Linked DNA regions of Homo sapiens: region 1 is linked to region 2. The links are contacts of gene promoters, found by promoter capture Hi-C in blood cells and fetal thymus (Javierre and others, 2016). All regions are on one chromosome and are shown on one strand. Each heading gives the region's core, a stretch centred on a gene start or on the middle of the fragment in contact. The rest is flanking DNA. Distances are from core to core; before and after follow the strand shown. Region 1 holds the start of SLC25A42 (solute carrier family 25 member 42). Region 2 holds the start of SUGP1 (SURP and G-patch domain containing 1).

What was found. The method cuts DNA at HindIII sites, captures the fragments that hold promoters and counts their contacts. A CHiCAGO score of 5 or more calls a contact.
Region 1: the fragment with the promoter of SLC25A42 here is called in contact with the fragment with the promoter of SUGP1 in region 2 in 1 of 17 cell types (M1 macrophages); the score reaches 5.4 in M1 macrophages.

Annotation. Positions count from the first base shown.
Region 1 is chr19:19,062,723-19,066,723 of GRCh38, forward strand. SLC25A42 (solute carrier family 25 member 42) reads left to right here and starts at 1,272. Exons shown (of 8, transcript NM_178526.5): 1 at 1,272-1,393. LOC124904655 (a long non-coding RNA gene) reads right to left here and starts at 803. Exons shown (of 3, transcript XR_007067160.1): 1 at 468-803. RefSeq lists silencers at 744-913, 1,174-1,443. The HindIII fragment of the contact is 7,903 bases long and covers 1-2,144 here.
Region 2 is chr19:19,317,828-19,321,758 of GRCh38, forward strand. It overlaps SUGP1 (SURP and G-patch domain containing 1), which reads right to left and starts at 2,682. Exons shown (of 14, transcript NM_172231.4): 1 at 2,636-2,682. The coding sequence starts at 2,669. It overlaps MAU2 (MAU2 sister chromatid cohesion factor), which reads left to right and starts at 3,002. Exons shown (of 19, transcript NM_015329.4): 1 at 3,002-3,308. The coding sequence starts at 3,033. RefSeq lists enhancers at 2,550-2,599, 2,620-3,109, 2,818-3,789 and a silencer at 3,161-3,382. The HindIII fragment of the contact is 18,112 bases long and covers 1-3,931 here.

The DNA.
Region 1 (4,001 bases), core at 22-2,521, 260 kb before region 2:
GGCCGCACATGACCTGCTCAGGGTCAAATGCTTTCACCAGATAATTAAAATGAGAGCTGAGTTGTAAATTTTCCCAGGGAAGCAACCCCAGAGAGGAAAGATCAAGGCATAGGAATCATTTTCCCCCCTCTTTTCCAAATGAAACAGCTGAGGCTCACAAGGGCTTTTGCCCAAGGTTGTGTGGTGGGCCAGTGATTGGACAAGGATTCAAACCCAGGTCTCTGAGGCCCCCAGTGGCTCTTCTCTGACACACTCTTTCCAAAAAGCAGGCTGCTCTAGATTCATTCTCTGGTTTAGCAACCAGAGAATGCTGTGTAACCTTGGGCAAGGAGCTTGACCTCTCTGTGCTCTGGTTTCTGTAAAAGGAGCCAGTGGTCTCTCTGACCTCATGGGATTGTGGTTAAGATTCAGTTAATTCAAAAAAAGACTTGGCAGGGAGAAGGCCCAACAGGGATGTCACTGGATACCGTGGCGGGGAAAGCTGGGACGCAGAGAGGTCAGACACTCAGAAAACCACGCAGCGCGTTTCAGTAGGATTCCGCCCCTTATTTCCATGTCTTCACACCACCTCGAGATGGAGAGGGCAGTTCAGAGTGACCTCCAGCGAATCTGCCCTCTCCGTGTCGTCTGCAGGGGATTAGTGGGGAGTAAGGGGATAGAGAATTATCCAGGAGTCCTTCAGCCTTGATGGTCCAAGTTCACATCCGCTTCTGTGCTAGGTGGCCAGAGGGCGGGCTCTACACGAGAGCCTCAGGGGACCCTGCGCCAGGCGTCCGAGGCCACGTCGGGTTGCCGCGCTCCGGGTCGGACTGCACCTTGAACGCTCCAGCCCTCCCCTGGGGGCGTACCGCCCACGGCCGCTGCGACTGGCCGCGGGGCCTGCCAGTCTTCGGCTTTGCGGCCAATCCCGGTCTCCCCCCAAGCTACGCCCTCCGTTCCTCTCGCCTCTGCCCCACCGGTAGCGCCAGTTTCTTCGTAGCCCCGCCCCTGGCCCCCAGCGATTGGCCGACAGTTCTGCCTGTTTTCTGCCAAGATTCCAATCCTCGCCTGCCTCCAGGCCCTCGCCTCCCAGCGCCTAGCACCCTGAGGGACCACTCAGGCACCCCAGGCCTCTCCCAATAGCCCCACCTCTGCCAATCAGCGATTGGCTTTAGGGGCTGCCCATCTGCTTCATACTCGCCAATCACTGTCGCTTCCAGCGCTGACTGGCCAGGGAGCAGCCAATCGGGGCGTGGCGTGGACCCCTCCCGTGGCGCGCTCTGGGGGTGCGCGAGGCGGGGCCGTGGCGGCTGGAGGTAGCGGCGGCGGCGACGCGTCCGGGCCGGTGAGGGGGCGCGGGGGGCGCCGGGGGGGCCCAAGCGTCAGCGGCCCGCGCCTGTCGGGCTGAACTGAGGTGAGGCACGGGTCCTGTCATGGATCCCGGGGCGAGGGGCGGATGAGGCGGGGCATGACAGTAGCGTCGCGAGGGCAGGAAGAGGTTAAAGACCCCCCCCAACCCCACACTCCACGTCTACTGCCCCCTGGGGGCTACTGCATCCAGGTTTGAGCCCGTCACCCGCAGTCCACGCACGCCTGACACCACGTCCCTTTTCGTTGACATCCCCCATACACTTTAGACTGTCCTTGCTGACATCTCCCACACCCCTGGGGCCTTGTCCCCGGCGCCCCGCACAGCTGGGTCTGACATCCCCCTCACACACCTGACACCGCGCCCCCACTCACGAACACCCGCCCCCACTCACGAACACCCCCCACATCACCTGAGTCTGTCCTTGTCGATGACACCCCCACACCCACACCTGAGCCTGTGACTCCTAACTCATGGCCTCGCAACTCACACCTGGACCTAGTCCCGTCCCCCACTGCCTTTCCTCATATCCAGGTATCTGCTCGCTACTCTCGTGCCCACTCCCCCAGCAACCTGTGTCTCTCTTCTCAGGGACCTTCCCCCTGGCACCTGCCCTCTGCCCTGGCAGCCCCACACCTCTGTCTCCCCCTTTTCTCTCTCCCACCTTGGGCTTTCTTCCACGTGCACCTGTGTTCGCACACCCTCTGTAATAATCCCCCCGAATCCCCCAGGTCCTCCAATAGTCCCCCAAGCCTTGGTATCTCAGGATCGCTGCACCCTCCCCTCCCCAAACAAAAGCTTACCCCAGTGTTCATTTCTAACAGTGCTTGACAGTCTATAAAGTGATTTCCGGACCTTAGAATAATCCCATCTGTCAGACCAAACCGGAATCATCTCCATTTTACCAGCCACAGACCTAAACCACTTGAATGCTAGAGGCAGAGCCTATTCTACCCTGGGCATCGCTGACCCTCTGCTGTGGACCCACCGCGTTTGGGCCCATCTGTTATGTTTATCTCAGAGGGATTGGCAGGAGTCGTGACTTTGACTGGGTCCGGAAAGGCTTAGCTGGAAGGGACGGCCCCTCTGCCAAGCGTGTGTCTCGGAGTCCTGGGGCAGGCTGGCGGTGGAGACGCTGCCGGAGGAGGGGGGCTCATCATCTTGGGTGCCTCCTGCAGGATGCCGGAGAGGGGGTTGCCGGGGCCGGGGCTCCCAGCTCTTGCAGACCCGGGACCCCTCTCCGACACTCCCTGGGCCCTTGAAGCCGATAAAGAGTAAGGAAACACTCTTTAGAGTGAGGCAAACTAATGTTTCAGCTGTTTAAAGCTAACCTGCAAAACGAGCCTGGGTGGTGCTAGGAATGATTCTTCTGGAATTTTTTAGTTCCCTTGAGTCTGATTTGCAAGCATGCAGCATAGAAGGAGGACAGTGGCTTTGTTGTTGAAAAGCAATAACGTGCCATTTCCTGTAAGGCTCCTGGAGCGTTTCTTACCCCCTCCCACCGCTCCCTGCAAAGACGGTACCAGAATGTTTCAGAGGGTCATGTCACCTTCAGCTTCTCCTGTGGAAACTGAAGCCATTTGGGTTTTCTGTCCAACTTCAATAGGAGTCATTTAAAACATATATGGGCATGTATGTATATATGTATGTATATGTGTGTGTGTTGTACACATATGTACATGTACCTATAATATTCATATGTTTATATACATATTTTATATATACATATTTCGTGTGTGTTATATATGTACATGTGTATAAACTTTGGCAAGATCATTGAGTATATAGTTTTTGGGTTTTTTTTGAGACGGAGTCTTGCTCTGTTGCCCAGGCTGGAGTGCAGTGGTGTGATCTCGGCTCACGGCAACCTCTGCCTCCTGGGTTCATGCAGTTCTCCTACCTCAGCCTCCTGAGTAGCTGGGATTACAGGCATGTGCCACCACACCCAGCTAATTTTTGTATTTTTAATAGAAACGGGGTTTCACCATGTTGGCTAGGCTGGTCTCGCACTCCTGACCCCAAGTGATCTGCTCGCCTCAGCCTCCCAAGATGCTGGGATTACAGGCGTGAGCCACCACACCCGGCCTATTATATAGTTAAAAAGAAAAAATCAAACAGTACAAAAGGTCACATAGTAGAAATCAGTCAGGTCTTCCCCAGCCTGTACCCCGTTCCTCCTCAGATGCACCTGCTGTTGATAATTTCTTATGTTTTCTTCCAGAGGTAGTCTATGACTGGGGTGGCAGAAAGGGGTCGGGGGAGGTATATATCCCCCACCCCTTTTAAACCACTGGTAAATTTGCATTGAGCAGACATATGCATTCTAAGGCCAGTCCCTTACTGATGGCTGTTTAAGCTGCAGCCCATATTTTTTTTTTCTTTCTTTTTTTTTTTTTGAGTTGGATTCTTGCTCTGTCGCCCAGGCTGGAGTGCAGTGGCGCGATCTCGGCTCACTGCAAGCTCCGCCTCCCAAGTTCAAGCCATTCTCCTGCCTCAGCCTCCTGAGTAGCTGGGACTACAGGCACCCACCACTACACCCGGCTAATTTTTTCATATTTTTTTAGTAGAGACGGGGTTTCACTGTGTTAGCCAGGATGGTCTCGATCTCCTGACCTTGTGATCAGCCTGCCTCGGTCTCCCAAAGTGCTGGGAT
Region 2 (3,931 bases), core at 1,432-3,931:
TGAGGCGAACTGTTACTCTGTCAGCCAAGATGGAATGCAGTGGCACCACCTCGGCTCATTGCAACCTCCACCTCCCAGGTTCAAGCGATTCTCCTGCCTCAGCCTCCTGAGTAGCTGGGATTACAGGCGTGAGCCACCACACCTGGCTAATTTTTATATTTTTAGTACAGTTAGGATTTCGCCATGTTGTCCAGGCTGGTCTCGAACTCCCGTCCTCAAGGGAACCTCCAATTTACGCCTCTCAAAGCGCTGGAATTACAGGCGTGAGCCACCGAACCCAGCCTTCTTTTTTTTTTTTTTTTTTTTTGAGATGAAGTATTGCTCTTTTCCCCCAGGCTGGAGTGCAATGGCGCGATCTTGGCTCACTGCAATCTCCACCTCCAGAGTTCCAGCGATTCTCCTGCCTCAGCCTCCCGAGTATCTGGGACTACAGGCATCTGCCGCCATGCCTGGCTAATTTTTTCATATTTTTAGTAGAGATGGGGCTTCACCATGTTGGCCAGGCTGGTCTCGAATTCCTGACCTCAAGTGATCCACCCACCTCAGCCTCCCAAAGTGCTGGGATTACAGGCGTGAGCCACCACACCCAGCCGTTTTTTTTGTTTTGTTTTGTTTTTTTGAGACAGGGTCTCGCTGAGTTGCCCAGGCAGGAGTGCAGTTGCATGATCGTAGCTCACTGCATCCTCAAACTCCTGGGCTCTAGAGATTCTCCCACCTCAGCCACCCGAGTGGCTAGGACTACAGGCACACTCTACCAGGCCTAGCTATTTTCTTTTATTTTTTGTAGAGACAGGTTCTTGCTATGTTCCCCAGGCTAATCTTGAACTCCTGTCCTCAAGGGAGCCTCCCATTTAAGCCTCCCAAAATGCTGAGATTTTAGGCATGGATCACCACACCTAGCCAATATCCACAGGGTCGTTTTATTTTCATCCTGGCTACTAGGTAATCATTCTGGCCAGAGAATCCACAGGCAACAAGACCAGGGAGGCTCACTGGCTCCAAGCAACAGACAATGATGTCTTCAGACTAGGGTGATAGTATGGAGACAGGGAAGACACCTCAGAGGTTCCCCATGGGACTCAGAATAAAATCCAAATTTTAAAAGTCTGAGCCGGGCATGGTGACTCACACCTGTAATCCCAGCACCTGGGAGGCTGAAGCAGGCAGATCACTTGAGGTCAGGAGATCGAGACCAGCCTGGCCAACATGGTGATACCCCGTCTCTACTAAAAATACACAAAAACACTGGCCAGGTGCGGTGGCCGGCGCCTGTAATCCCAGCTACTCAGGAGGCTGAGGCAGAAGAATGGCTTGAACCCGGGAGGTAGAGGTTGCAGTCAGCCGACATCGTGCCACTGCACTCCAGCCTGGGCGACAGAGCGAAACTCCGCTTCAACAAAAAGAAAAAAAGAATTCTAAAAGGCCATTTTCAAGGCCCCGCCAGATGGTTCCCCTCCCTTCTGCTTCATCCTTGACATTCTTCAAAAGGACAAGCCCATCCTACCAGGGCCTCTGCATTTACTGGCCCCCCTCTGTGTGGAAGGCTCCACCCTCCAGGGATTCCCATAGCTGGCATTCATTGTCTTAACTCAAATGTCCTCTGCTTGAAAAGGCCTTTCCCTGGGCCAGGTGTGGTGGCTCACACCTTTACGTAACCCCAGCACTTTAAGAGGCTGAGATGGGAGGATCGCTTGAGCCTAGGAATTCCAGACCTGCATGGGAAACGTGGCAACACAAAAAACACACAAATTCGCTGTGTGGTGGCGCGCATCTGTGGTCTCAGCTACTAGGGAGGCTGAGGTGGGAGGATCACCTGAACCCAGGGAGCCACAGTGAGCCACTGCACTACAGCCTGGGCGACAAAGTGAGACCCTGTCTCAAAAAAAAAAAAAAAAAAAAAAAGAAAGAAAGAAAGAAAAGGTCTTTCCTGACTACCCAATATCAGAAGCCTCCACTCTGATCATATCATACGTAACCTCACATCATACGTAAGTTTTTGTAAATATTTTCTCATTAATGCACTGACACCCCAGTAGAAAGCAACCTCCAGGAAGGCAGGGCCCTGTTTCGGTCACCGCTGCATGCGTAGCGCCCAGCACACTGCTTGGCACACAGTGAGCACGCCCTAAGTATCTGCTGATGGGTAAATGCATTCTATTCTGGGGAAGCAGAAAGGCCAAGGCTTGCAGCAAAGTGAGGGTCAAAAGACGCGGGAAAGTGTGTCAAGGGAGCCTCAAAGCACTTCGGAAAAGCAGCTTTTCCAGAAAGCGGGACACAGGCCAGAGGCCAGCTGCGACGAAAAGAGGGGTGCAGGGACAGCCCAAGGTTGTCGCCGTATTGGGGAACGGAGGTTGGAGCAGCCCTGAAGGCGGTTGTTTCGGAAACGGGACGCAGGGCCGAGCCGGGTGGCGGCCTCTACGGAGATCCGTGCGTCCTCAGCAAACCAAGCGGGGGCGGCCAGCAACCTGGGTCTGGGGTCTCGAGAAACCAAGAGGTGCAGAAGCCGACGCTGTGGGCTGCCCCGGGGCTGAAGCGAGGGATCCACGGGTCGCAGCAGGACGGACCCGAGGAGTCAGGGGAGACACCTAGCCCCAGGGACCCAGGCGGCCGCCTGAGAGGAGGCGGGGGCTGTTACCTGCAACATCCCGGTTGTCCATCTTGAGACTCATCCAATCCCACAATGCTCCGGCGCCCCTTAAGGGGCCCTGTTATAGTGTGCATCGCCTGATGGGAGATGTAGTCCGCCTCGGTCAGACTCGCCCTATTACTGCGTGAACGACTGGGTTTTTTTTTTTTTAACCTCCAGAAACGGAAGCCTCAGCCTATCAGCGATGCCTAAGTCCCAGTCACGATAACCAAACGGCGTCGCCCTTTTACACCTTCCCGGAGCGGCAGTCATCCCAAATACAAACTACATGTTCCAGGATGCTTTGGGCGGCAGATCTCGCGGAAGCCGCGAGGAGAGCCCGGCCCCGTCTCGCGCGCCTGCTTCCGCCTCCCTGTGGCGGCGGCTTGTTGTTGTGGAGGCCAAAATGGCGGCTCAGGCGGCGGCAGCGGCCCAGGCGGCGGCGGCCCAGGCTGCGCAGGCCGAGGCGGCCGACTCGTGGTACCTGGCGCTTCTGGGCTTCGCTGAGCACTTCCGCACTTCCAGCCCGCCCAAAATCCGCCTGTGCGTGCACTGCCTGCAGGCCGTGTTCCCCTTCAAGCCGCCGCAGCGCATCGAGGCCCGTACACACCTGCAGCTGGGCTCCGTTCTCTATCACCACACCAAGAACAGCGAGCAGGCGCGCAGCCACCTGGAGAAGGCGGTGAGCGCGGGCCGGGCCGCGAGGGAGGAGTCGCGGGCTCCTTGCAAGATCTGGGCTGACGGGTCGCGACCGCGGCGGGTGGGGGGCCGCTCCTCGGCGACCTGGGGGCGCGACCTCCGTCAAAGCCGCAGGACCCCCACCCGCCTCTGCCGGACCCCAAAGCCACCAGCCTCTCAAGGGACACGAAAGCCTCGCCCCCCACGCCTTATTTCCCGTTTCTGGTGACAGGGCTCCAGGAGCCCCGTCACCGTACTCTGAAAGTTGCCTGTTATTGGGAGCAACAGGATCCGCAAATCGTCTGGTTTTCAGGAGGATCCCACCTGTTGGTGGCGATGGGGACATCACAGGGTCCTGAAGCTATTAGCTCCTCCTGGTTCAGCTTCCGGAGCATCAGCCCCAAACGCTTCCACCTAAAGTGACTTGGGGTAGGGGTTGGCGAAGGCGAGACCCCTGGCATTCTCCCGGGAATCTGAAGTCTGGTCTCTCAGGAACCTGGAAGGGCATGATTCTCCTTGGACACAGAAGTTTGGTAATCGTGGTTTTTGGAGGGTCTTGTGCCCCCATCAATAATGCCTGGTGTCGTACGAGGGAAGCTGAGACCCGGAGTCTGGAGTTGGTCATTT